Linked DNA regions of Homo sapiens: regions 1, 2, 3, 4, 5 and 7 are each linked to region 6. Evidence: promoter capture Hi-C in 16 types of primary human blood cells and fetal thymus (Javierre and others, 2016). All regions are on one chromosome and are shown on one strand. The core of a region is centred on a gene start or on the middle of the fragment in contact, and the rest is flanking DNA. Distances in the headings are between cores, read along the strand shown. Region 1 overlaps AGPAT5 (1-acylglycerol-3-phosphate O-acyltransferase 5). Region 2 overlaps AGPAT5 (1-acylglycerol-3-phosphate O-acyltransferase 5). Region 3 has its middle 27 kb from the start of MCPH1-DT. Region 4 has its middle 55 kb from the start of MCPH1-DT. Region 5 has its middle 20 kb from the start of MIR4659B. Region 6 holds the start of ANGPT2 (angiopoietin 2). Region 7 overlaps XKR5 (XK related 5).

Region 1 (3,871 bases), core at 1-2,500, 160 kb before region 6:
CTTTCTATACCTCATCTATGGTATAAGCAGTAATAAAAACCACAAAATCATGAAGAGACAGCTGACAGGAAGAAAATTTAAAAAAAGCCACAGGCATAAGTGATTTCCCTAAGAGTACTATATTGATCAGGTTGTTTTTAGCTTAAGAGTACTATATTGATCAGGCTGTTTCCAGCTTTGAGCTTCTAGGTATTATATTTTTTAAAGTAATAAAAATGCAATTTAGGAAGTACGCATCAAAAGTAGCTACAGGTTTGAAAACATAAGAAGTGGGATTTTTTTGGAGGGCTGAATTATTTGGAGAATTAAAAAGTACCTTACCCAATGACAATTTCCTGATTCTGCTACTGTGCTACAGTTATATTAAGATGTCACCATTGGGAAAAATATTGCTGACAATGTACTCTTTTTGCAAATTCTTGGGACTCTAGAATTACCTCAAAATACAAAGGTTTTTAGAAGTATCTTCACCTAAAGTATATACTGCACTGTTTTGAAGACCAGTTCTCTGCAATTCCTCTGATGGAACAGTAGCAACTAGAATTAAACCAAACCCATTTGAAGAAGGAAAGGAAGAGCAGACACTAGAAATGACGAGCATAGTAAGGAAACGAGTACTTACATACCAATACAGCTTTTCTGCAGCTTAGCAATCAAAAATGTAAAATGTATACACACTTCGACCCACCAATGCTACTTCTAGAAACATCACTTACAAAAAGAATGAATACACTCTTTAAAGAGCTACACAAAGGAAAAACAAAGCAAGCAAGTAAGAAGATAGCTTACTTACATCCAACAGAGGGAGAAGGTAAGTTTAGGAAAATTCATAGCTTTCAAGTTTCTGACTTTCCAAAAAGTAAAATCACAAAAATACAAGAACAGGTGTAATATCTGCACAGAAAATTGCTGTTTTAAAAAACCCACTTCATTTAAATATAAGAACGGTATTTTGAATGCCCATGTGCCATCTGTAGAAAAACCTATGTTTCATGCAAATGAAATACAAACCTGTGCTTTGATGATTTGCTAAATATATTATATTTTCTTTATTTTTTGGCAAATCTCCATATAGCAATATCTAAAAGATAAAACAAAAAAACATTACTTTGATATTTTAAAACATCTGTAATATACAAAGGAAGACAATGTGAAGAAACTGACGAATGATGTTGTGAATATTTCCATCCATGATTAACAAAAATTAGATTTCTCACAGGAGCCTCAGAGATCATAAATAGCGCAGGTACAGAAAGCAGTTATGTATAGTACAGGTTAACGGTAATAAATTAAAATAGAATAATCAATATCCTCATGAGAAAAATATAGCAAGCATTCATTGATTGCTAACAATATATAAAACACTGTTCATAAGATATATCTTCCTTCAAAGAGCCCACAATCAATCTAGTAAAAGAGACAGACATGTCCACAGGAACTGTAATGAGACATAACGCAAATACTATGAAAATATGGTACCTTTTTAAGGTTTTAAATTTGTTTTTTCTTTTTTCAGGACACTAAAGGGTACACAACCTTTTTTAATTTTAAAGAACTGTAAACTGCAGAGCAGGAGTATTATTAGGTAGGATTCTGGCAGATGAGATGAAGGAAAATGTTCATGAGAATAAGAACGAATGGAAGCAGTAACCCTGGAGGCCTGTTGGGAACATGGGCAGTGTCGCGGCTGAGGAGCAAGGAGACCAGAAGGGTGGCTCTGAACTGGAATGGCAGAAGTCTTTTGAATTCCATGCTAAAGATTAAAACTTTATTCTGTAAGTATGAGAGAAACATCATTCCAGTTTATTTTTAAACTGGGCGGTAGGCACACAGGTGTTCGATGTACCTGTATTAGTCCTTCTGCTGTTTTGTGTGTCTTACATATTTTAGAATAAATTTTTCAAGAAACTGGGAGTATACTTGTAAAGACTTAAAAGGAAATGGCTGCTAATGGTGCTAAGTTTTTATTCTGGGCATTTTTGTTTCTGCATCTTGTCATCATGGATTATGCAAGATTATAAATTAGCTAAGGCTTTTTAGATCTATCTTGTCCATAAGGATTATCTTTTGGTCATGACACTATTTATTAATATCTTAAAAAGAGAAGAAAGAAAGGGGCAATTAACCCAACAACTTTGCAGACAAATGCACTTAGATAACATAAAGTTCTGGAAGCCAGGGATGTGACAAAGGTTTCCATTACTTTCCTTAGAAACTGCACAGTGCTATGTATGTAGTATGTTTAAACATTTGCACAATGAGTTTTTATTCATAAAGTTTATCGATGACATAAATGAGTAATACCAATAGCTTGATCTGTTCAGAGTTAAAAGTGACATCGTGGCTTGTGAGTAAATCCCCATTCTCTTACCAACAAGCCAGAATTGCATCAAGACCATTGAGTATGCACTGATTTAAAAGTTTTGCACAGCCCAGGCATAGTGGCCCATGCCTGCAATCCCAGTGCTTTGGGGAGGCTGAGGTGGAGTGGGCGGGCGGGGTCGGTAGGGGCAGGGAGGGAAGATCTCTTAAGCCCAGAAGTTCAAACCCAGCATGGGCAGCACAGCCAGACCCTGTCTCTACATAATTATAAAAAGATTAGCCAGGCATGGTGGTGCGCACCTGCCCACACTCCTTCAGGAGCATCCAGAACACACTGCACACCTAATGACAAGTCCCCAGCCCCTTAGGGACTATGAGCTCCTCAATGGCCTGATCAGTTTTCTACCCCAAGAGCCTAGCACCAAGCTGGTTTTTAACAGATGTTTACTGAATTATTTACACTTTTGTCACCAGTAGGCAAAGCTATACCTCATTTTCAAAATAAAGGTAGTTTCAGAATAAACATAAATAAAATAATTAAAGTGCACCAGTGACTTTTTAAAGGCTTCATTCTGTAAATCTAGTACTCATTTTTTAAATCACATTAGTTCCGTCTACAAATGTACCCTGCAAATAATTTGTCACTTCAAAATAAGGCACAAGAAAACATACGGCTTTTCTTTTTGTTTTTCATAACTCTTTAAGTAATTTTAAGTTCATTATGATTGCTTGTTCATGATAATTTCAGGTTCATCCACTTTTTAAGAACTCATCAGACATCCCCTACAGAAAAAAAAATTTCTCTTTTCATTTATTAATTCAGAGGTAGCCAATAAAAATGATTTCTGAATAACTATCTTCATCACAAAGGACAAACTAGTTATTCTGCTTTCGTCAAAAAAACTTATTTATCTTGCACACACTGGCTTTCAGGAGAAGGCCTGAATTAGATGCGGACCAGTTTCACCTCGCCTTCATCACATCTGTGTTGTTTTTAACTTGCTCCCATGACATATAAACTGCCTATTGATTCTTTTTTAATCTTAAAAACAGGTAGTCATACGGCATCTAAAGTAATCACATGCTTAACACCTTAGCCTCCATAACACAATGTCACAGAGACATAAATATACAGCATTCTTTGTTAAAAAATATATATTCTTCATTTATCTCAATCATGTCCATTTGTCTTCCACATGCAAATCTTGAAACATGATTTTTTAAAAAAAACTTTTGCTGTTGTTAAGTATAGATGATGCTGTTGAAAGAGATCAGAGAATATGCCACACCCAAATATGCTACTTTGGCATAAGGATTATTTTGAGCTGAAGGCACCTGAGACACAGCAGATACAGGAAGAATTCTCTGCCCTTCCCCTAACTGCCTAAGGCAGGACATAAATTTCCCTGTGGAAAGGTGATATGAATTTCCATCTGTAAAGGTGTTTCCCTGTCCCTTATTAGGAGACCAGAAACTGGCAAAATAAACCTGCATAGCAAACCTTATTACTATACATTTCCTAGTCATCTTCCCACAATTTACCACCCCT
Region 2 (4,027 bases), core at 617-3,116, 180 kb before region 6:
GTGGGATTCATTTCTGGAGAGTGGATGGAGTCAAACACAAGAAAGCAAGGGGCCCAGACTTCTCTTTGCACAGCTATAGACTTAGTTATTTCAGAATTGGAGTACATTTGCAAGCTGGGAGAAACCCCTGCAGAGAAGTAAGGCAGATGACTGAGGCAACGATGGAGACAGGGTAGACGGAATCAAGAGCTTAGAAACTGTTGACGTTGCCATGTCTAAGAAGAAAATTTTTCTCCAAAGTTTTCTTCTTAGACATGGCAGCTTCAGCAGTTTCTTCCAAAGAAATCCAAGTCAAGAGACTCCACATTAAGATTTTGAAATCAAAAGGGATATTGGGTGCACTCTTTCCAGAGAAATATAACTTTCTGAAAGCAAAAAATCCTTGAATGTGAAGAGAACAAAAATCCGTGAAAACCATGAGGTAGTCAAAAGGAGAAAAATAAAAGAACTGCTCCACACAGACTTGGCTCGGCTGAAATGAAATGGCCTGGCTTGGCTGCAGAAGGCAGTCAGCATTGATCTTACGATGTTCTCCACTGCTAAGGAAGGGAGAAAACAAACAGGGTTGCCAAGGGCTGAGGAAAGGCAGGGCAGGAACAGAACAGCCCAGCACTGGGATGGGCAGACCCCGGGGCTGGGGCAGACAAGAGCTGCAGAAGGCCCTGCAAGCTGCAGAAGGGCCAAGGAAAGAGAGATTAGAAATCAGCCAAAAACACAGGTTTAGAGCGAGTGAGGAGGAGGGAGAACCAGAGTCAGCTATATGGTGTGGGCGAGCCAGTGCCATTTCCAGATGAACTTCAAGGTGGTAAAAGCAGAGCACTGGACCCAGCACAGGACCTCGAACCAAGCACAGGATCCCAGACCAAGCACAGGACCCCGAACCAAGCACAGGACCCCGTACAGGAGAACAAGATCCCCCCAAGCCTCCACAAAGGACTGCAGCCCTGCCAACACCTTGATTTCAGCTGAGTAAGACCCATTTCAGACTTCTCAAATGTAAGAGAAGAAATCTGTGGTGTTTTAAGCCACCAAGTTTGTGGCCCTGCCTGAGAGCAGCCACAGGGAGCAAACACACCTTCTTAAGAGCGAGAGTGCCGTTACCACACAAAGCTGAGCACTAGCTTTCTTGTTTGCTATGCTTTCTCAGAAGTTGGCTTCAAAGTATTCATTTAATTTCTACTTCTTTGATTATGAGAAAGAATAAACATTTGTTCAAGTGTGTGGGTCATTTGTATCTCTTGAATTTCTTATTCATGCCCTTTTCCCATTTTTCTAGTTTATGTCTTTTCTAATTATGAAGCACTTTTGTAATATTAAGTATATTAATATCCTATATTATAAAATATTATTAGCTTGCCATTTGCCAACTAAATTTGTTCATATGATGTTTGAGACATAAAAATAATTTTTATTCAGTTAAGTCTACAAAGAAAAAAATTGCTTTGTAGCTTATTCCCTTTGTTCTCCTGTTTTGAAAGAACTCTCAAATCTCTACAATCGCCAGTGTTATTCACCCTATGAATAACATGGAAATTCTAGGTATCTGGTTTGCCATTATAGACACATCATTAAATTTCTGTTTTCTTTTAAGAGAGTTCAAAAAGCTTAAGTATGTCACCTTCGCTAGCAACTATGGTTTTAACCATGGCAATTAAAAAAAAAAAACCACCATAGGGGCTTACTTTAATGGGTCCAGGTGGCAGATTAAGATACATTTAATTCCACATCCCTTATAACCATTAGAAAGCCAAATACCTAAAACAAGTCTAAGGAAAATTAGTTAAAACAAAACCCTTCGAACAGCTGAGAAAAGTTTAAATATTACCACAGTGCCTGCACTTCTGCAGGACCCCATCTGAACAGCTTCTTCCTCCATGTCTAAGTTTCCTATAAGAGGTATGCAACTGCTATCAATTTGTTCTTTTTGTGAATAAAACTTAGGCAAAAAAACTGAATGATGGAGTTACCAAGACAAGAAATATGAGTGTATGCATGGAAGGATAAATTCTATCTTCAATATGCTGAGTTTGAGACATCCTTTTGGGCCAGTCAAGCGAAGCTCTCTAATGGACAATTGTACAAATGGGTCCAGAGTTAGGCAGAGAGACATGGAGGGGAGGAAGCTTTTGCGAGTCATCAGCAGTCAAGGAAACGATGGCTAAAGCCATGGATTTAGAGGAAGGCCACCATGAGAAACAAAAAGTGAAATTAATCAAACACCAAAACCTGACACTGGAAATAACACATGTAGCAGGGAGAAATGAAGCAGAAAGAGGCTGGAAAGGAGGCTAGGAAGTAATCGCCAGAGAGTTGGGAGGATAATGGAGAACAGCCCCACAGAAGTCTAGGGAGAGAATTTCAAATCAGACCAAAACAAATTGAGGGCAGAGTGAGTACTGGAAAAAGTGCTTACAACAAAGGTAGACTACAGATTCGAGAGTGGTTTTTGTTTTGTTCTGTTTAATAAATGTGAAAAGGGCAAAAGAGACAATGGCATTGCAAAAGAGCAACTGAAATGACAGAACGTCATGTCTATTAGACAGAGGAAGCAATGAAAGTCAAAAGAGAGCTGGCAGATGGGGAGACCAACTGAACCCTCCTATTCTGAAACACTCCTTACTTAATAGGACATGTGTTTAAAAACAAACTGGCATTTTTTAAAAGTACTGTTACAAATGATGTCATATACCTATGACATATCTGCTCTTGTAAGCACCTTGTAAAAACTCCCCCTTATTTTTAATTAAACTAAAATTAAATAAAATTAAAAATTAGTTTCATGCACTAGTCACATGTTGAATGCTCAAAAACCACATTGGTAGGAGCCAGCACACTGGACAGAACAGATGAAGAACTTTACCATTATTGCAGAAAGTTCCATTAGACAGCACTGTCATAGGCCCTGCTGTAATGTCACCAACAAGGTATTTGCTCAGTGAGTGACTATCAACATATGGAGATCACACACTAAATCACAGTCAAGCTTCAAAGACACCTCTAAGAACATAGCATAGCCACTGTTTTCTGTATACTTCCCAATTTGGTTAAATTGCATAGCTTATTGGTGTACCAATTATTCAATTTTCTAAAATATGGATATTAAGAACATTACCATTGTTGAAGACATTAACAGCTTCCAAGCACTGTGGACCAACTTTGTGTAACTTCTCCAATAGAAACTTGACATATTTTCTAATCTAATCCTCACACAGATTTAGATCTACTTATAAGGCATATGTTCTTTTAAGAGATGAAGAAGCAAGCTCAGCAACATTACACAACTTCCAAGTTGCAACCATACAGCTAATAAAAGTACGAGTTTGGACTCCAACTTAGGTCTGTCATCTTACAAAACAGAAGCTCCATTACATATAACCCATACACTGTAGAAAAAGCTTCCATCTACATAATCATGTACTTAGATAGATTTTAAATAAATCCATGGCACAAGAATATGTATCGTAACAAGCACTTCAACTTAATTTCTCAGATATATGTAATAATAGCATGAAAGTGAATTAAGGAGAAGAAACTTCATTTCCTAAGAGATAATATGTACACTAATTCAAGGAATGAATACATTCATTCCTTCAACTGTAAAACAAAAGTATCTTTTCCAGGAAGAAAAACTAAAAATGTTATTATCTTTGAAAATTATTTGTTCAAACACTCAAATTTTTACTTACCACGTTGGGCAGCAAATGCCTGACTAGCTGAAAGGACTTTTGTTTGCTCTGGATTATACCTTGTACCTTCTGGAAAAATCACAAGATACATCTGTGGGACATAGAGCAAATTTGGTTTATTTTGTGTGAGCTTTGTTTTTGTTATTGTTAACCTAAAAAAGCTAAACCTACTAATGCTAACAGAGTATTTCCTACAGTAGGAGAAAATGTATATTTATTTACATGTGACCTTCGTTTCAAGAGGGGCAAACAAAATGCAACAATTAAATATGAACATAACGTGAACTATATTTTAAATGCAGTGCTACATTCATTGGTAGGTCAGCCATGAAGAATCTAAA
Region 3 (4,060 bases), core at 751-3,250, 180 kb after region 6:
CTCAGCCTCCCAAAGTGCTGGGAATATAGGTGTGAGCCACCGTGCCCAGCCAACCCCCTTTAAATTCTAATCAAAGGATCAGGGCAGCAAAAATTTTATTGGTTTGAATAAACTGTAATCAAAAATTGTTTACTGGTTACAAATTTTTTTTTTCTTGAGATGGAGTTTCACTCTTGTTGCCCAGGCTAGAGTGCAATGGCACAATCTCAGCTCACTGCAACCTCCACCTCCCAGGTTCAAGCAATTCTCCTGCCTCAGCCTCCTGAATACCTGGAATTACAGGCATGCACCACCATGGTCAGCTAATTTTGTATTTTTAGTAGAGACGGAGTTTCTCCATGTTGGTCAGGCTGGTCTCGAACTCCCAAGACTTCAGGTGATCCGCCTACCTTGGCCTCCCAAAGTGCTGAGATTACAGGTGTGAGCCACAGCACGTGACCTCTGGTTATAAAATTAATGAGGAAATTATCAGAATGGAGACTATGAAAGTTCAATCTAATCAGGTCCTGATATTAGACACATTGGATTACAGACCACCCTTATGACCTCATTTAACCTTAATTACCTCCTTAAAAGTCCCATTTCCAAGCAGTCACATTGGGGTTAGGTCTTCAACATACAAGATGCGGGAGGAGACACAAATCAGTCCCTAACCCCTGCCTATTAGTATTTTCATTTAGTTCATGACCTTGGAGTATATATTTATATTTTTGTACCACAAGACTAGCATGTGAAATATTCAGTGACTACCATCCTTCAATATACTTTAACGCCAAAACTATCTGGGGAGACAGTAATCCCAGCACTTTGGGAGCCTGAGGTGGGCAGATCATCTGAAGTCAGGGGTTCGAGGCCAGCTTGGCCAACATGGTGAAACCCTGTCTCTACTAAAAGTACAAAAATTAGCCGGGTGTGGTGGTGCAAACCTGTAATCCCAGCTACTCGGGAGGCTGAGGCAGGAGAATCGCTTGAATCTGGGAGGTGGAAGTTGCAGTGAGCCAAGATTGTGCCACTGAACTCCAGCCTGGGTGACAAGGAAGACTCTGTCTCAAAGTAAGCCTGACCAAGAATGATGGTGATTGTCCCCACTCCCAACCCCAATCTATTCTTACTGCTGTAGCCAGAGTGGACTTATACAAACACAAATGAGATCACATCACTCCTCTGTTTAACGTCCCTCAATGACTATGCTATCCTCAAGGAATATGCAGATCCTTACTGCAGCCCGTGAGGCACTGCATGACTTTTTCCTCATGGATTCTCCAACCTCCCGTCTTGGCTCTTCCTCATGTCATTATCTACTCAATGTTCACCTCTCTTGCTCACTGCAGGGTACCCAAGCCTCGTAAGTGCTTGTGAATAACAGAGGTTCACTAAATTTTGTTGCATTATTGAATGATGAGAAAAGAAAAGGCAAAGCCACTTAGAACAGAGCTCTGAAGGGCTCCAAACTTTATGAGTGAGGTGGAGGAGGTATAATAGGCAAGGGATTGTAAGAGGGAGTAGCCAGGAAGGTAGGAAGCAAACCAGAAGGGTGGTGGTGAGGAAGGCAAGAGAAGGTTCTGTTTCACAGAGAGGGAGGAGGTCACAATTTCAGATGTGGAAGGGTCAACGAAGATAAGGATGAAAAATGTTCATCATTTAGCTCTCACATAGAGGGGAACAATACATACTGGGGCGTTTCAGAGAGTGAAGGGTGGAAGGAGGGGGAAGATGAGGAAAAACAACTAATGGGTACTAAAGTTAATACCTGATTGATGAAATCGTCTGTACAACAAACCCCCATGATACAAGCTTACCTATGTGGCAAACCTGCACTTGTACCCCTGAACTTAAAAGTTAAAGAAAAAAAAATTGTTCATCTTAAACTTAGTGACAAGGAGGCCACAGGGGGCTTTATTGAAAGCAGTTTCAAGGGATTGAAAAATGTAGGCAGCAGATTTCAGGGTGAGAACCTTAAGTTTTCGCAGTGTGGTGAGAATGACTCTTCTTCACATGGGGATCAATCTTCAGACCTTAGCCCTACAATTTACTAAGCATGAGCTTCAGCAACATACTTAATCTTTGTATTCTTCATCTGTAACTTGAGAATAATAATGATACCCATCTGCTGCGTTGATGGGAGAATTAGAAATAATGAGTCCCACAGATTTAGCTCAAAGATTCTAAATAAATGGTAACGGTTGTTAAAATTTAGTTAAGCTTTTGCATTTAAATTTACTATTCTGGGCCAGGCACAGTAGCTCATGCCTGTAATTCCAGCACTTTGGGAGGCCGAGACAGGTGGATCATGAAGTCAGGAGTTCGAGACCAGCCTGACCAACATGGTGAAACACCATCTCTACTAAAAATACAAAAATTAGGCCAGGCACGGTGGCTCACGCCTGTAATCCCAGCACTCTGGGAGGCCGAGGCGGGCAGATCACGAGGTCAGGAGATCGAGACCATCCTGACTAACACGGTGAAACCCCGTCTGTATTAAAAATACAAAAAATTAGTCAATTTTTTGTATTTTGTGATGGCAGGCACCTTTAGTCCCAGCTACTCTGGAGGCTGGGACTCTGGAGGTGTGAACCCAGGAGGTGGAGCTTGCAGTGAGCTAAGATCATGCCACTGCACTCCAGCCTGGGCGACAGAGCAAGATTCTGTCTCAAAAATAAATAAATAAATAAAAATAAAATAAAATACAAAAATTAGCCAGGCATGGTGGTGCACTGTAGTTCCAGCTACTTGGGAGGCTGAGGCAGGAGAATCACTTGAACCCAGGAGGTGGAGGTTGCAATGAGCTGAGATCACGCCACTGCACTCCAGCCTGGCAACAGCAAGACTCTGTCTCCAAAACAAACAAACAAAAAAATTTTTATTATTCTGTGAAAATAGACTTAACTAAATCAATAGATGCTGAAGCATTTTTTAAAAAGCATATCAGCTACATTATGATTAAATCAAGTTACTGTCAACTCACTTGCTTTTCAGTTAGGTAAAACTGATAAAAAACAACAATGTGTGTGCATGCACTTCTGTGTGTTTTACAGGAAACATAAAAATTTTAACAGAATGTATATGTATTTCACAAAGAATTTCTAGAATTGTGTCAGTAGATAAATATACAAATGAATCACTAGTGAAATTATAGTGCTGAAACATAATGGACAAAACAAAAATTCTGGTTCTGATTGTAGGCAAAAATGCTTGGACCAGATTAGCACATTGTCATAATTCTTTTCTCTACTTGGAGCTTTTATGGAAGTCATTGGTGGGTAAACTTTTAAATTTCTTCCTCTATGACTTGAAGTAACTTTGATGTGCATCACATAATATTTGATGGAAACATCTATGTTAGGTTACCAAGATGGCAAAATATTTTGTTTAATATCAAAATTCAGCAAGTATAGTCAGCTTATTTTGGAACATTTTTATGTTTTATAGAAGTTTTCCTGGCTGGGCGTGGTGGCCCATGCCTGTAATCCCAGCACTTTGGGAGGCCGAGGTAGGTGGATCACCTGAGGTCAGGAGTTTGTGAGCAGCCTGACTAACATGGTGAAACCCCATGTCTACTAAATACAAAAATATCAGCTGGGCATGGTGGCGCATGCCTGTAATTGGAGCTGCTTGAGAGGCTGAGACAGGAAAATTGCTTGTACCTGGGAGGTGGAGGTTGCAATGAGCCGAAATTGTGCCATTGCACTCTAGCCTGGGCAACAAGAGCAAAACTGTGTCTCAAAAAAAAAAAAAAAAGTTTTCCCTAAAGTTTTACAGAGTGTTAAATGTGAATTGAACTATCAGCAGATGTATTGATAATTTCATCTTCATTTTTGAAGAATAGTTTTACCAGGTATAGAATTTTTGGTTAACAGTTTTTTTTTTCTTTCAGGGTTTTGAGTACATCATCCCACTGCCTTCTGGCCTCCAAGGTTCCACATGAGAAATCAGGTGTTGATCTCATTGACGTTCATTGTATGTGATAAGTCATTTCTTGCTGTTTTCAAGATTCTGCCTTTATTTTGACATTTGACAGTTTGGTTATGACATGTTTAGGCATGTATGTGTTTGAGTTTAT
Region 4 (3,840 bases), core at 854-3,353, 210 kb after region 6:
AATTTTATTGGGAAAATAGCATCTAACCTCAAGTTCAAATTTGAGAGAACCTTACTGTGGACCACAAAACCTGCCCACCGATATGCATCTTTGAAATAAATAACTAATGATAATGTGTTCAATAATGACCTGCCTTTAATTAATGCATTAAAATAGTAATAAGCAGAAAATCTTTATTTCGAATGTAATGTATCTTCTTATAAGCAGAAAAGCCCTTATTTTTTCAGCATGTTCATATTACTTTTATAAAGATGTTGGATTTCATGTGAGGGCAGCCAGTTCTTATCCTTGTGTATTTATCTCCATGGCTCATTCCTTATCCAGCTGCTACTGAAAAGTCCTGGAGTTCAGATGGATGATTTTGTAAGGTATAAGTAGCCACCCTTAGGGAAAACAAGGCAACTGATAACTGTAGTGAATATGGTAGCTGAAAGACCACAATCTATTTAGCCAACTTGTGTCCGACAAGGGCAAGTAGACAAGCTTTTCAGTGTTTAGAATAACAGGGGTCAAGGTTACTTACTCAAATCGTCTCCTGGAAAGAACACAGACTTTGGACTTAGAGCTGCCCTCAGATCTTGGTGTTGACACTTGCTGCCTTTAATAAACTACTTATTCTCTTAGAGCCTCAATTTCCTTGTGAAAATCATAAAACAGGCTAAGATTTTTTTATGTTTACTATGCATAAGGAGCTGTACCTTGTAATTATCTTTTTTTTTTTTTTCTGAAACGGAGTCTTCCTCTGTCACCAGGCTGGAGTGCAGTAGCGCGATCTTGGCTCCCTGCAACCTCCGCCTCCTGGGTTCAAGAGATTCTCCTGCCTCAGCCTCCCGAGTAGCTGGCACTACAGATGCACGCCACCACACCCAGCTAATTTTTGTATTTTCAGTAGAGACGGGGTTTCACCATGTTGGCCAGGATGGTCTCAATCTCTTGACCTCGTGATCTGCCTGCCTCAGCCTCCCAAAGTGCTGGGATAACAGGTGTCAGCCACCGTGCCCTGCCCCAATTCCACTAGTTTAAGTAAATTTCTGACAAAGACTATATTTATTCCTGGATGCGTCTTTACAGCAAGCAGAACAGATGCTTGTGCAAGCTCCGCCTCCTGGGTTCATGCCATTTTCCTGCTTCAGCCTCCCGAGTAGCTGGGACTACAGGCTCCCGCCACCATGCCCGGCTAATTTTTTTTTGTATTTTTAGTAGAGGTGGGGTTCACCGTGTTGGCCAGGATGGTCTCGATCTCCTGACCTCGTGATCTGCCCACCTTGGCCTCCCAAAGTGCTGGGATTACAGGCGTGAGCCACCGTGCCCGGCCTGTACTTTGTAATTTTCATGTTATGTCACAGTCAGTTCCCACAAAGTCTATATAAGCTGATAAGTGTATCCCATTTTTCGGATGAGGAAACAAAGACCCAGAGGAACTAAATGACTGTCCCAAGTTCTTGCTATTAATAAATTACAGAATCAGCAATGGAACTCAGGTCTTCCGGCTCTGAAAACCGTACTCTGAAGACTGCATTACACTACTTCATTCCCCAAACTGATAAAAATAAGATCAACTTTGAGGGGATTTAAAATAATATGGTGATATATGTTAAATTTACAAAGCAGTGCCTGGCCTAAAAGGGTATGTTCAATAAAAGTTATTATTATTGATTACTTCAGGAAAATCATGAATTGCACATAATATTGAACAAAATGATGATTGCTGTTTATTAAGCACAATACGTGCCAAGCTTTCTGTTAAGTGAATATATGCACTATGACATTTACTGCTCATAAAAACTCTATTATGCACATTTTTAAAATTATCTTCCTTTTTAAAATAAACAAAAATTGTGGCTCAGAGAGATCAAGTGCCTTGTACAAAGTCATGTTACACAGCAGTGGGAATCAGAACCAGGCCTGTGGATTCCAAAGCCCAGCTTTTCTGTTTGTTAGTTTTTATATTTAACCACTTTGCTGTGTGGCCTTCCTAAAGAGGAAAAGCTTCTGACCCCCAAAATGAACCTGAATTTTGGAACAGGTACGTGTAAATTTGTGTCAGAGGGCCCATTTTAGGTAAACATACTTGATGATGCAGATGAAATATAAAAACACTCTCAGAGATGAGACAGCTGAGCAGGAAAGGAAATACTTTAAACCAGGAAATGGAGAATTAATTCATCTGGAGGAAAAATAACTCCAAATATATATTTGATGAAACACAAAAGCTTGCAAGCAGTGTAGAGAATCTTGTTAGAAAGATTGATTTTGGCTTCTTCCCTTCTGTTCATTGCATCTGAATAATCACTACAATCTCATCTATAAATGGTAAAATTCCTAAATCAGGTGTAACCGAAATCTCCATTTTGTAAACTCTAAATTAATTCCATAAGACATTTTAGTGCCATGCAAAGTTATTGACGTCGTATCTAATTCTATTTGGTCTTTCCATCAACCATAGCGTTTTTCTTGCTTCTAGAGATAAATGCCATTATAAAATATTTAGAATTCTATAGTGTCTCATTGGGAGTTTCACTTGAGGGCGGTTGCCTCCCAGGGAACTGTGTGGTGCTCTGATGAACCCCATCTTTCTATCTGTAGTCACTGCACAGCTCCCCAAGCTCCCCCTGGGGTGGTCCCCTCAGCCGGAAATGTCCCCACCTCCTCCGGCCTCTGCTTATCAGCCTGTGCTCGTCATTCAGCATGAAACCTCCAGGTCACGTCTGCAGAGAAGCCATCCCAGAACTACCCCCAGTGGAAAGTTCCTCTGTTACCTGCTCTGTGGCAGAGCCCACAACATAATTAATAACATGTCATGTGACAAAGCTTCATGTCATTTTCCCTGCCTTAAGGGCAAAGGCTGTATCTGCCTCACTTTCTGCTGTATCCCCAGAGCCTGGCCAGCTTTATTTAGGTTAAAATATAAGAAATCACTGGTATTTCACTGTCCTTAGTCTACAAAAGCGGCAATGTCATATGAGTCAACCAAATACTTAACATTTAAAGGATGCTTTTTGCATATTTTATGACTGTAGGAATATTTGCTGCAACCTATTTTAGATTTCAGCCCATCTGCCTCCAGCCCTATCTCCTGTTTCTTAAAGAGGAAGATAGGGGGTCTTGGGGTGGTGGTTAGACTATATAGAGGACAAATAGTCTTCCTCCTAAAGTTGCCTCCAAAGTTATTTTCCAGTTTCTGGAATTGAACAACTAAGGGCAGTAGGTAATTTTGGCAAGTCCCCCAGCAATCAGTCAAATTGACCTGATGCTGAAGTCAGGGCTGGAGCTTCATTAAAGCAGAGAAAGATTAAGTGACTGTGGGTAAGCTCCTGAATTCTCTGCACCAACTGGAGTAGTAAATAACCGATCACATGTCTTTGTTTCCTCCAATATTTTGGAAAGAAAAAGAAATTGCTAATTATTGATTTCCCCCCTGAAATTTCACTGATCAATAGAAACTTGAGTGATAGCCAGAGTTCACTCTTTAACTGTGGCCAGTCTCAACAAGCATCATTCATTAAGATGACTGCCACAGTCATGCTTCAAACCAGGAAAAAATAACCTCAAATGAGAAATTACTGAAGGTCACAATGAGGTTACAGACACATAAGAAATGGAGACGTAATCGTGATTGCAAAAGGACCTAGGACTGTGGACAATTCTGGGTATTGCAAAGCTCAGGTTGCCTGATGATTTGGGGGGAAAAACAACAATATGGGAAGAAACTTAATCTCCACAGTGTCCTGATGTTCCAGAAGCGAACTTGCCGAAGTCAAGCAAATATAACCAGACAATGTTACTGATAAAAAGATATTATCGGCCGGGCGCGGTGGCTCACGCCTGTAATCCCAGCAC
Region 5 (3,611 bases), core at 618-3,117, 200 kb before region 6:
GCTCTGGCTTCTTTCTTTAGGTGACTTGTGAGGCCACTATAAACGCGCTGTCTTTCAACACAGTTCATCCCAAGTAATTTCCTTTGGGAAGAATGAAAGGAGTAGACAGAAGCAACAAAAATTTAGCTCTTCATTATAAGCAGATGCAAGAGCAAACAGATATTCTCAGTAATTACTATTTGGAATCACAGTACCATTAATTGATTACATTCATTGAAATACACCAGTAAGAAACAGGAGGATTTTTACAATTCCTTGAAGATTACAAGCTTTAGACAGATTCCACCCATACTTGAATTAGTGATCAAAGAAGAGTGGTGACATATTTAATTAGTAACCATAATACGGTATGGAATCCGCTCAGAATATTTTTAGACAAAATAACTGATATGCCTAGTTGACAAAATTTTTTAATTCGGAAAAAAATGTAAATATACCAAAACAAAACCAAAAAACCCAGAGAATAGTATAACATAGTATTCAGTATAAGGCCAATTCAGAATGAACACATTTCAATATTCTCATATTTGCTTCAGATCTTATTTTTTGATTGTGCTTTTTCTTGAACTCCAAGAATTCCTGGAATATTCTTTGAAATCGTAACTTCCATATCATTTATTAAATGTTTATTGATTATGCCATTTACTTTTTAAAATAATCTATTGACTTCGGACTATAAAATTCAAACACAATTGCTTTAGAAAATCTTCAGGTGGGCCGGGGGCGGTGACTCACGCATGTAATCCCAGCACTTTGGGAGGCCGAGGCGGGCGGATCACGAGGTCAGGAGATGGAGACCATCCTGGCCAACATAGGGAAACCCCGTCTCTACTAAAAATACGAAAAAATTAGCCGGGCGTGGTGGCGGGCCTCTGTAGTCCCAGCTCCTCTGGAGGCTGAGGCAGGAGAATGGCGTGAACCCGGGTGGCGGAGCTTGAGGTGAGCCGAGATCGCGCCACTGCACTCCAGCCTGGGCGACAGAGAGAGACTCCGCCTCAAAAATATAAAATAAAATAAAATAAATAAAATAAATAAAATGAAATAAAATAAAATAATCTTCAGGTGATACTTAATGATATAACTATGATTGAGGTAACCCTAAAATGTTATCTCAAATTATGCCTACTGAATCAGTTAAACAAACTGTTGCTGATTGCCTAATCAGTGCCAGGAATCACGGCAGTTTTGAGACACAAAGGTTGGGGTGAAAGTTCCTCGCCTTTAAGTCATCTTGTACATCAGGTCTGCCCTGTGGAGATATAATGCCATATAGCGAATATTAAACCTTCTAGTAGCCACATTAAAAAAAGGTCAAATTAATTTTAATATAGTTTATTGAGGACAATATGTCCAAAATATCACTCAAATATGTAATCAACATGAAGATTAATGAACTATTTTATTTTTTGTACTTATTTTTCCAAGTCTGGCATTGTACACTAACTTCTCTGATTTCAAGGACTCTATAGCCACATGGGGCTCCGGCTGCCCTACTAGGAAGTGCTGATGTGGAGGGTGGGTTTGTGGCTCACAGGTCCTAACAGAGCAACTGGGGAAGCTGTTGGCTGCATTGCCTTGAGCTCAGTGGTAATGGACGTTGGGGGTGGGGAGGGTGTTGAGCGGGTGAAGATAGAGGGGAAGCAGATGGAGGTGGATGAAGAAACCACCAAGTAGACTTGCTTAGAGAGACAGGTGGTAGGGGTGGTTGAAGATACCCCCAGGCATTGGGCCCAGGTGGCTGGCACAACACCGGGGAACAGCATGCAGAATGAAACTGTAGGATGGGAAGGTCTTTAGCAGCCACGTCCCAGGGGACGCTGCAGTCCAGAAAGAAGAGACCCACTGCTACATACTTGGGACCCGACCGCAACTCTAGATCTCCTGACCCTCAGAACAATGTCGTTGTTCACTGTACCACTCTGAGGCCAAGCTCAGTTTAAGTTCTATTGCCAGTTTTATGTCAGACTGGAGCTGCCAGTCAAGTCATAAAATACACCAGGAACCAAAATCTATCCACGAGCCAGTGAGAGTGGGTGCAGGAATAAAAACCATGTTGGAGAGAACAGAGCCAGAAATTACCAGGTACTTAGACACATGGAGGCATACTTTATATTGGATTTATTTCTAATCTCATTATCTTTCATTTATGTCAACTTCTAGAAACAGAAAGAGGGGAGGAGATATGGAAACAAAAAGGATAAAGATGTTAGTACACAAGAAGAGGGGGTACATCGTTTATGGGTTTTTTTTGTATACTTCATTTTACTTGAAAATGTCTATTTTGCATTTGTTACATGCCCTATTAGAGCAACATACCAAAAACCTAAAATGTAACAAAGTTATTAGCTCTAGTATAAGGCAGAATGCCCTTATGGACGTGTGTGTGTGTGTATGTGTGTGTGTGTGTGTGTGTGTGTAACAAAAGTTGCTAACATTTGCGCACTCAGAATGTGACAGGCACTAATCCAAGTGCTTCACATAGATGATTTCGCTTAATTCTCACAAGCCTGTGAGGTAGGTTCCATCACTGTTATTTTCATTCTGTATTTCAGGACATTGAGGCACAGAGATTAAGAAACTGACTACAAGGCCCGGCACGGTGGCTCATGCCTGTAATCCCAACACTTTGGGAGGCTGAGGCAGGTGGATCACTTGAGGCCAGGAGTTTGAGACAAGACTGGCCAATATGGCAAAACCCCATCTCGACTAAAAAATACAAAAATTAGCCAGGCGTGGTGCCGCACGCCTATAATCCCAGCTACTTGGGAGGCTGAGGCAAGAGAATGGCTTGAACCCAGGAGGTGGAGTTTGCAGTGAGTCGAGATCACGCCACTGCACTCCAGCAAGGGCAACAGATCGAAACTCTGTCTGAAAAAATAAAAATAAAAAATAAAAAACTGACCACAGTCCCTTGCTGACCAGTGGCAGGGCAGGGCAGGGACTCAAACCGAAGTGTCCTGGCTCTAGAATCCATGCCCGTAAGCCCGGCTCTCCATCTACTCCCAGCCACTCCTCCCCAATCTCCTTCCCAAACAAGAAACACTGATACACAGAATGAGTTATGAAGAACCTTGTGTTTTGATCATCTGGACAACAGAAAGCCCCTGTTTTAAGAGAAACACAGTGTGTTACTGATGGTGTCATCAGTGACGTGGCCCTGATGTGCCGCCATGCTCCAGCTCAACTACACCGGAGCAGCAACTGTTTTCACCCTTCTGGATTCAGCTAAGAATCACCGACCATCGAGAACCAGCTAACACCGAATGCATCAGAAAGAGCCAACTTCCACATAGATCCCTTCCTGGGCATATGCTTAGGGGCTCTGCCAAAACCTGAACAAGGCACATGGTAGAGATGACACAGCTCGGGTGCCTGTGCAGTAACGTGTCCTCACAGGAAGTGGTGATGCCTTGCTTTCATTCCCTACTATATCTTTGGCTTCACTACAGTCTTTGTGAAGCTTTCTTCACACCATACACAGGAACCTCTGGAAATAACTGTGCTAAGCTAAGCCCCTAGCACAGCGCCTAACACAGAGCAGGAATTCAAATTTGTGAAGTGAGTGCACAGCTCTCGCTGCCGTTTTAGAACACCTTGGGAACACTACCTTA
Region 6 (3,651 bases), core at 833-3,332:
ATTCAGAGAATAGCAGAGTTATACTATTTGATGGTGGAAGAACTGATCCCCATTTAATGGAGCATGCCTGTAAAGAAAAGGAACAAATATTTCTAAACATACAATTATATCTTAATCCTAAAAACCCTACAGAGAAAAAATGATCTCCATCTTATGACTAGGGAGACTGAGGCTCCAAGAATGGAAGCATTTGCTGGAGGTCACACAGAAGCAGGGTTCTAACACAGGTCTCATCTTTAAGACCTATATGCTTTCTTCGACGGTGCACTGTCCGGATGGGTATAGCATCTTTAATTGGTTCCCTTAGTGGAAACCATGTCCAGAACCTTGGTGGAATCATACTACCTCTTCTACTAATGAGATCCTTCCAGAGCATGTCTTCCAGCTTTTCTGTGTGACAGAACCCTTTGGTTGTCTGGTGAAGCCTATAAACACCTTCTCAAAAGAAGACACATGCTACTTTATTCCAATGTTCAGTAGCAAGATCTAGGGCTGGGTTTAATAAAAATGTAGTTCTGAGTATTGTGGCAGCAAATAAAAAGAGCTGATTTCTGAGGATGAGAAAGTCACAGATATTCACACTGTTGTTCGTTAACTATTCATTGATAAGGGAAAGGCTGTCTTTCGGTTAGAGCTTAGTAAAAAATAAAGATCTTTTATGGGTAGATGTGGTCTGTTAAGTCAGTGTACCAGCTATTCAGCGCTCACTGGGAATAATAAACCTTGTACCTTGAGAGATAAACCGCAGCAAAGGCAGGGGGCTTTTTCCCTATGTACACTTGGGCTGCTGAGTTAACATATTATTAATCTCTGAAGTATTAAGTTTTAGTTGTTAAAGGAAGTGACTTGCAGAACTTACAGAGCCATAGGATTGAAGGTGAAAAATCTTGTGAGTGCACCCCTTGAATTGCACAGATGAGGACATTAGAGCTTAATTAAAACAGGGAAGTGACTTGCCCGAGTCTAATACCAAGGGGGACTAATGTAATTGATAATGTGTTACAAAATGCTGAGATGTCAACAAATTCTGACACAATAAAGAAGTTTGTGGGCCAGGCATGGTGACTCACACCTGTAATCTCAGCACTTTGGGAGGCCAAAGGCGAGTCGATCACAAGGTCATGAGTTTGAGACCAGCCTAACATGGTGAAACCCTGTCTCTACTAAAAATACAAAAATTAGCCGGGTGTGGTGGCGTTTGCCTGTAATCCCAGCTGCTCAGGAGCCTGAGGCAAGAGAATCACTTGAACCCGGAAGGCGGAGGTTGCAGTGAGCCAACATTGCCCCACTGCACTCTAGCCTGGTCGACAGAGCGAGACTCCGTCTCAAAAAAAAAAAAAAAAAAAAAAAGTTTGTATTCCTCTTTCTACACAGGCACTTAAATTCTAATTTCTCTATTGTAATGTAATGAACTTAATCAGTACAGTGTATTTTTAGAGTGAATATCCAAGTGGAGTTTTTTTAAAGAATAAAGGTCAGAGCTCAGAAACTGATGTTTCTAACGTGACTTAATAACAGATCTTTCTATCCAACTGTTCGGAAATGAAAATCTTTTGTAACTTGGCTAGTGGTTCAAGAATCAACTAAAATCAATGAATCTATTTTTCCCTCTGAAAAGGCACACGTTTACAGGAGCCAAACTTCTTCCTCTTTATTTGTAATAACAAAAATAAACCGAAGTCCTGACCTATTTGTAATATTTTTATTCCTAAAGGAAAAAACAGGAACTTTCATTGTACTTCAACATTAAAGTTATTACCTCAGATATTTTGCCAGCTTAGCACGGCAAAAATCAGTTTCAGACAAAAGAGATCAACTGCTCTCTCTAGGAAATACTTAATTGGGGTGGTGCCTAGGAAATGCCCAGGGGTCCTGTAACAGATCGGTTTTTCCCAGAGGGTTTCTGCAGCATGGGTCCTGGTTGGAGGGCAGGCATTCTGCTCTGATTTTTCCTGTTGCCTGGCTAGTGACCCCCTACAGGAAGATAACGGCTAAGCCAGGAGGGCGGAGCAGCCCACTACACATGTCTGGCTGCTCTTATCAACTTATCATATAAGGAAAGGAAAGTGATTGATTCGGATACTGACACTGTAGGATCTGGGGAGAGAGGAACAAAGGACCGTGAAAGCTGCTCTGTAAAAGCTGACACAGCCCTCCCAAGTGAGCAGGACTGTTCTTCCCACTGCAATCTGACAGTTTACTGCATGCCTGGAGAGAACACAGCAGTAAAAACCAGGTTTGCTACTGGAAAAAGAGGAAAGAGAAGACTTTCATTGACGGACCCAGCCATGGCAGCGTAGCAGCCCTGCGTTTTAGACGGCAGCAGCTCGGGACTCTGGACGTGTGTTTGCCCTCAAGTTTGCTAAGCTGCTGGTTTATTACTGAAGAAAGAATGTGGCAGATTGTTTTCTTTACTCTGAGCTGTGATCTTGTCTTGGCCGCAGCCTATAACAACTTTCGGAAGAGCATGGACAGCATAGGAAAGAAGCAATATCAGGTCCAGCATGGGTCCTGCAGCTACACTTTCCTCCTGCCAGAGATGGACAACTGCCGCTCTTCCTCCAGCCCCTACGTGTCCAATGCTGTGCAGAGGGACGCGCCGCTCGAATACGATGACTCGGTGCAGAGGCTGCAAGTGCTGGAGAACATCATGGAAAACAACACTCAGTGGCTAATGAAGGTAGGAAAAAAATCCATCTGTCTTTGTGAACATGCTATTAAGATCAGCTTGGCAGCAGCTCAGGTTTTAACAACCAAAAAAAAAAAAAAAAAAAGAAGGAGGATGAAGAGGATTAGAGCTGGAGAGCGGGTTGCTGGTACCCTCAAATGAAAGATAATTTCTTTTATTCTATCCCAGGGTGTGTGGGTAGTCCCCGGGGTGAAAATAATTATTTGGAAAGAATGCCAGAGTCAATACAGAAAATCTCTAAAGTTAGAAATCTTTATTAACAAGGTAGAGGAAATATACTTCCCTGCACAACTTGTGTGCCGTTCTGTTTGTTTACATCGTTTAAGCTCAGTAACACCCATCACCAGGGAGGCTCTCAGCTGGTTGCAGGCAAGTGAGGGAAGGCTGTGAGCCGCAGCAGCCCGTGAGCCAGAGAGACCGTGACAACCATGCTGATGACCGAGGCATAACGGATGGAGTAAAGTGCTTTACCAATTTCCTGAATTTATTTACTAAAATAGGTTGTGACTCTTGGTAAACGAGAGGAAATTAAATAAAGCAGACCTTATGTTTCTCAGAATCTCAGGGCCCTACCACTAAGGGCTTGCCGTCTGTAAACAGGGGCACAGTTCCCAAGCGTCCCAGAGGTATTCAGCACTGCAGCCCCCGTCAGTTCCAGCAACCGGTGCGGAATGCGTCCCCACGTGGGACGGTTATGTTCAAGTCATGCCACGACAGGACGGTCTGTCTGACAGTTTGTTCTTGGGGTGATTCCACTGTTTCACAGATGATCCCACTGTTTCCTAGAGTTTTTATGGAGACGTAACCAAAATAGGATATTGAAAGCTCTGTTTTTCTTTCATAAATAATTTTTTTTCACATGTAAACATGGGAGCTATTTATACAAAATCCAAAACGAACCTGGAATTTTCTTTATATGGACTATATATATTCTAAAGGAAGTTTAAACAAAATGCATAAAT
Region 7 (4,123 bases), core at 1,511-4,010, 250 kb before region 6:
ATCAGAGAAGTGACGCTATCAAAACCCTACAGGACACAAGAGGCAGAGCTTGGGAAAGTCAGGGAAGGGTTTACAGAGGGGACCTGCACGATGTGCTATGTGGTGAGCAAGGTTCACCTGAAGAAAAGGTGTGGACGGCGCTAGAACGTTTCAGGCAAAGCTGCGGAAGTAATGGAAAGACCCTGGAGTGTCTGGAAATCCACAGGAAAGTGAGTGCGCACAGCGTCCGAGGGAAAAAAAGCCCTGCGCTAGTTAAAAGCAATGAAAACAGATTGCACTGAGTGTATCGCCATAGGGAAGAGCCCTGCATGAACTGAACCCACCTTCAAGTTGTGCAGAGGTGACAGGGCTTAAAAGGGAGAAAAAGGGAGGAAGGAGGAGGAACATCCGGGGGCTTGGCCAGAGACAGGGAAGTGGAAATTTACAAAAAGCAGGAAAGTGGGATCGTAAATGTGAGTGTGCCATCTGTGTTTGTTCATTGGCGCTTGTCACTTGCTGGGAGCAGAAACAAATTTCTCATTTCTTTATGACAGGAGGCAGGAGTCAGTCCTGTTAGGGCAATGCACCCACCAGGCTTGGAGTTTGTATTTGAATAGATGGCTCTTGGGTACTTGAGGAGACAGTTCTGGGTAATAGAGGATGTATATCTCAGAGCGCAGCGAAATGATTTGCAACTGCAAGCTTTCTAAAGGAACTGCTCGGAAAGGAAGTCCAGGGTCCTATCCACCCAGCACCAAGTTTTGGCTGGAACAAACAGTACCTTCTCCTGGCAGCACTGCGCTTTCTCAGGCAGGAACTTAAAGGAGACTGAGGTCAGCATCGTAGGGGTGAGGCCTTGAGCTGCTGGAAACTCGGTCAGTGTTTGTTCAAGTCTCTCGGTGTGGGGAGGTAAGGGGAATCATATGTGCTGAGTCTGGAGTTCTCGTTGGCCAGGGTTGAAGACTCATGGAAAAGAAGGCTCAGAGAAGGCTGACTGGAGTTTGGTTGAGGAAAGACTGTTTGTCAGTGGAATGTCGTTTGGGAAGAGCATGCTGGAAGATGACCCCAGAAAGGAAAACTTGCGCTAAGTGGCAAACAGGACCATCTGCTCTGTTGAGAAGTAGGGACTGGATCCTGAAGTTAAGGTGGGGCTGTTTCAAGGTGCATCGGGGAGGAATGGCAAGATGCAATCTCTGGGTGAAGTGGGTCACCCTGACATTGGTGTGGAGGAGAGATTTCAGAGAGAGAATGAAGATAGGGGTTGCCTAGACAGGAGGCATGGGGCCAGAACCACGGAAATGGCGGGAAAGACAGGAGGCAGGTGACGGAGTTGGGACAAACTTAAGAATCTGAACCACCAGAACCACACAGCTGAGGAGTGGGGAGAGAAAGATGCCTTCTGTACTGGCTGCTGGCCAAGGCATTTAGGGCAGAAACCCTGCCCATTGCACACAGAGGGACTGGGAGAATGGATGTTCATAGGATTACGAAGCAGCTCCTCATAATTTTTTTTATTTCTCTCCTTATTTGAATTTTTGAGAGTGAAAAACGAAGCCAATGAATAACCTGGCAAATCTTTTGAAGAGTTTTAGCAAATCAGTATATAATTTAAGTGTTATTTTTAAATAAATAAAATACACAGTATTTAATATAAATATATATTAAATATATTAAAATATATATTAATTATATTTTAATTAAATAAAATTAAATTATTTTTAATTAAATTAAATAATTATTTAATTAAATAAAAATAAATTAAAATATATATTAAATATAAAACACACAGTATTTAAATATATCGTCTTTGAATTATGTCATTTGTTTACTTATTTTAATGAAGACGTATCTTTTTATATTTAAAAATTGGAAAGCAAAGTTAATAAGCTGACCCAGATGGGCGTACAAAGAGCCTTCTGGACCATCTGCCATTTTGACCAGCTGCAGCCACGGGGCCAGGCTCCTTTGTCAGCCTGCGAGCTCCCGTCTCCGGCTGCCACCTGGTGGCCGCAAAGCAATTATTTTAAGGAAACAAAATCCTAAAGTTGTTAGAAAGTTTGTGACCCTAGCTCCCTGGAATTCAGTGGCATCATGAGCTCTGCAGCTATCTTTCATTTTAACACTAATGAGTGCCTGCAGTTAGTGTGAGGATGGAGAAATATGCAAAGTAGAAAATAAAAGTCCCCTCTCAGCCCATAATGACTCTCTAAAGGCAGCCCCACAGCCATTTGAGGGATGCCCTTACATTTCCTGGGCCTTTATGATTCTGCAGACACTTTAATGAGCCACCCTGAGAACAGGGTGGCTCTCTCTTTGCCAGAGAAGGTCTCAGTGGGACATAGCCCTGCTCCTGGGTACTCCTCAGCAGCCTGGAGTCTCCAGTGGGCACTCAGGATGGAGGGGAGGGGGAGCCGCTGCAGACTCACGGGACGGGGGTCCCTAGGCAGTGTGCACCTGACGAGGTGTGGTGCCTCTGTCCTGGGTCCCGCAGGTCATGCTGTTGGAGAACATCATCCTGTTGCTGTTGGCCACCGACTTTCTCCAGGGGGCATCGTGGACCAGCCTGCAGACCATAGCTGGGGTCCTGTCTGGATTTCTGATTGGTAAGTCCCAATGTCACCTTCTTCTCTGCATCCCCTCCCCAACGTATTTTTTTTTTTTACAATGGGCTCAAAGGGTAGGAAACTGAGTTCAGATGTGGTTAACTGGAGACCAAGGAACCAGGCTCACTGCGATGTGGGGGGCAGAGCCATGCCCATCAGAGCATGAGATACTGAGCTCAGCCTCATCTGCCTTGCTTGACTGTGCTCGGAACCTCAAGCAAAGCTGGGGCTATCCCTCTCTACCCCAAAGCCCCCGTCCTCCCCGGAGCTTCCTGCAGGGTTGAGGACGTGACTTCTCTCTCCCCTCCCACCTAGGGGAGCTCCTCACATCTTCCTGACATGGCACCCCCTGCAGCCCATAGACAAGCACCCCGGGAAGTGGGTGCCCTAGCAGAGGAGGAGAGGAAGGTGAGGCACAGAGGAGGTTGAGTCCCCGAAAGATCCAATGGTTTGTAACAGATAGAGCTGAGATTCAAGCCCAGCTCCAGTGCAGGCCTGAGCACAGGCCTGGCACTGTCATCAGCCGTGTTTTATGAATGCATGGCCCCAAGGTCTGTGTCACACCCACGGTGATGACCTCGCTTCCCAGATTGGCATGAGTTCCGCAGGGATTCCGCCCCCCACTTGAAAGGTGCGAACACCAGCCTCCTCTCCCAGCACAGCAGGCTTCCACCACTGTCACTCTCAGGCCTGCGGTGGGACCGTCAAAGCCAGCACCTGCACCTCTCACGTGGGGCCTCGTGCTTCTGCAACATGGGCCAGGACAGAGATTCCCCAGTCCTCTGCAACAACTCCTGCCCTCCCTCCAGAGCCTGCTCTCTGTCACCCACACCCTGAAGAGGTGCCTGGAAGTGGCCTCGGGTTCTTTTCTTGCTCACAGCAGCCGGGGGTTGGATGTGGCCTGTGTGAGTGGCCTGGACCTGGGAAAGGAATGACCTGGACACAAACACTTAGTGAGATGCAGGGGCTGTTCACGGGTCAGAGAAATGTCACACACTGTGGCTTCGTAACAAGCATTTGAGAGCCACAGGCCACCCTGGGTTTCAGCTCTGTTCTTCTTCATGAGACGTCACGGGTCCTCACTTCTTCCAGCTTCAGGTAGCTGAGACAACCCCTTCTTTTTCAAATCAAACTTTTTAGATAATTGTAGTTTTAAGAAATAATACAGAGCTCCCCGTACCCATTACCAGGTTTTCCCCCAGTGGTAATATCTCGCAAAACGGTGGCACAACATCACAGCCAGGATCTCAAAGTAGTACGTCGAGGTGCAGGGAGAACCCTTCCATCACCACGAGGACCCTTCATGTGGCCCCCTTCCTCTCGCCCCTGCCACCTCCTTCCCTCCTGGCAACCATTATTCTGTTCTCTGTTTCTATTATTCTATCACTTGGAGAATGCGTTGTGAAAGTACCACACAGTGTGTGCACCCTGGGGATCGGTCTTGTTCACTTGGCAGAGCTCTCCGGAGAGCCTCCCGGGTTGCTCCTTGCTTTTGATGGCTGAGTCGCATCCCATGGTTTGGACGGACCACAGCTTGTTTC

What was found. Contacts are between HindIII fragments. The CHiCAGO score rates a contact against its expected background, and 5 or more counts as called.
Region 1: a fragment that was not itself captured here is called in contact with the fragment with the promoter of ANGPT2 in region 6 in 10 of 17 cell types (total B cells, naive B cells, fetal thymus and 7 more); the score reaches 18.1 in total B cells.
Region 2: a contact is called between a fragment that was not itself captured here and the fragment with the promoter of ANGPT2 in region 6, in 13 of 17 cell types (naive B cells, total B cells, fetal thymus and 10 more). The highest score is 22.2, in naive B cells.
Region 3: a contact is called between a fragment that was not itself captured here and the fragment with the promoter of ANGPT2 in region 6, in 8 of 17 cell types (fetal thymus, non-activated CD4 T cells, naive CD8 T cells and 5 more). The highest score is 8.3, in fetal thymus.
Region 4: a contact is called between a fragment that was not itself captured here and the fragment with the promoter of ANGPT2 in region 6, in 4 of 17 cell types (total CD8 T cells, non-activated CD4 T cells, activated CD4 T cells and 1 more). The highest score is 7.1, in total CD8 T cells.
Region 5: a fragment that was not itself captured here is called in contact with the fragment with the promoter of ANGPT2 in region 6 in 17 of 17 cell types (naive B cells, total B cells, megakaryocytes and 14 more); the score reaches 24.5 in naive B cells.
Region 7: a contact is called between a fragment that was not itself captured here and the fragment with the promoter of ANGPT2 in region 6, in 9 of 17 cell types (naive B cells, fetal thymus, erythroblasts and 6 more). The highest score is 11.3, in naive B cells.

The regions. Positions count from the first base shown.
Region 1 is chr8:6,722,080-6,725,950 of GRCh38, reverse strand. AGPAT5 (1-acylglycerol-3-phosphate O-acyltransferase 5) reads right to left here. Exons shown (of 8, transcript NM_018361.5): 2 at 1,012-1,081. Among named protein-coding and RNA genes, the nearest start is that of AGPAT5, 15 kb to the right of the region's middle. The HindIII fragment of the contact is 7,430 bases long and covers 1-3,871 here.
Region 2 is chr8:6,741,411-6,745,437 of GRCh38, reverse strand. It overlaps AGPAT5 (1-acylglycerol-3-phosphate O-acyltransferase 5), which reads right to left. Exons shown (of 8, transcript NM_018361.5): 5 at 3,687-3,777. It overlaps MIR4659A (microRNA 4659a), which reads right to left and starts at 274; the gene lies at 194-274. It overlaps MIR4659B (microRNA 4659b), which reads left to right and starts at 198; the gene lies at 198-270. RefSeq lists enhancers at 594-673, 704-983. The HindIII fragment of the contact is 519 bases long and covers 1,607-2,125 here.
Region 3 is chr8:6,377,122-6,381,181 of GRCh38, reverse strand. No RefSeq gene overlaps it. Among named protein-coding and RNA genes, the nearest start is that of MCPH1-DT, 27 kb to the left of the region's middle. The HindIII fragment of the contact is 408 bases long and covers 1,797-2,204 here.
Region 4 is chr8:6,349,699-6,353,538 of GRCh38, reverse strand. No RefSeq gene overlaps it. Among named protein-coding and RNA genes, the nearest start is that of MCPH1-DT, 55 kb to the left of the region's middle. The HindIII fragment of the contact is 224 bases long and covers 1,992-2,215 here.
Region 5 is chr8:6,763,404-6,767,014 of GRCh38, reverse strand. No RefSeq gene overlaps it. Among named protein-coding and RNA genes, the nearest start is that of MIR4659B, 20 kb to the right of the region's middle. RefSeq lists an enhancer at 3,072-3,121. The HindIII fragment of the contact is 3,191 bases long and covers 272-3,462 here.
Region 6 is chr8:6,561,676-6,565,326 of GRCh38, reverse strand. ANGPT2 (angiopoietin 2) reads left to right here and starts at 2,082. Exons shown (of 9, transcript NM_001118887.2): 1 at 2,082-2,680. The coding sequence starts at 2,393. All of the region lies in intron 12 of MCPH1 (microcephalin 1), which reads right to left. RefSeq lists enhancers at 2,213-2,739, 2,740-3,265. The HindIII fragment of the contact is 4,979 bases long and covers 1-3,651 here.
Region 7 is chr8:6,814,266-6,818,388 of GRCh38, reverse strand. XKR5 (XK related 5) reads left to right here. Exons shown (of 7, transcript NM_207411.5): 6 at 2,471-2,582. Among named protein-coding and RNA genes, the nearest start is that of XKR5, 19 kb to the left of the region's middle. The HindIII fragment of the contact is 4,153 bases long and covers 684-4,123 here.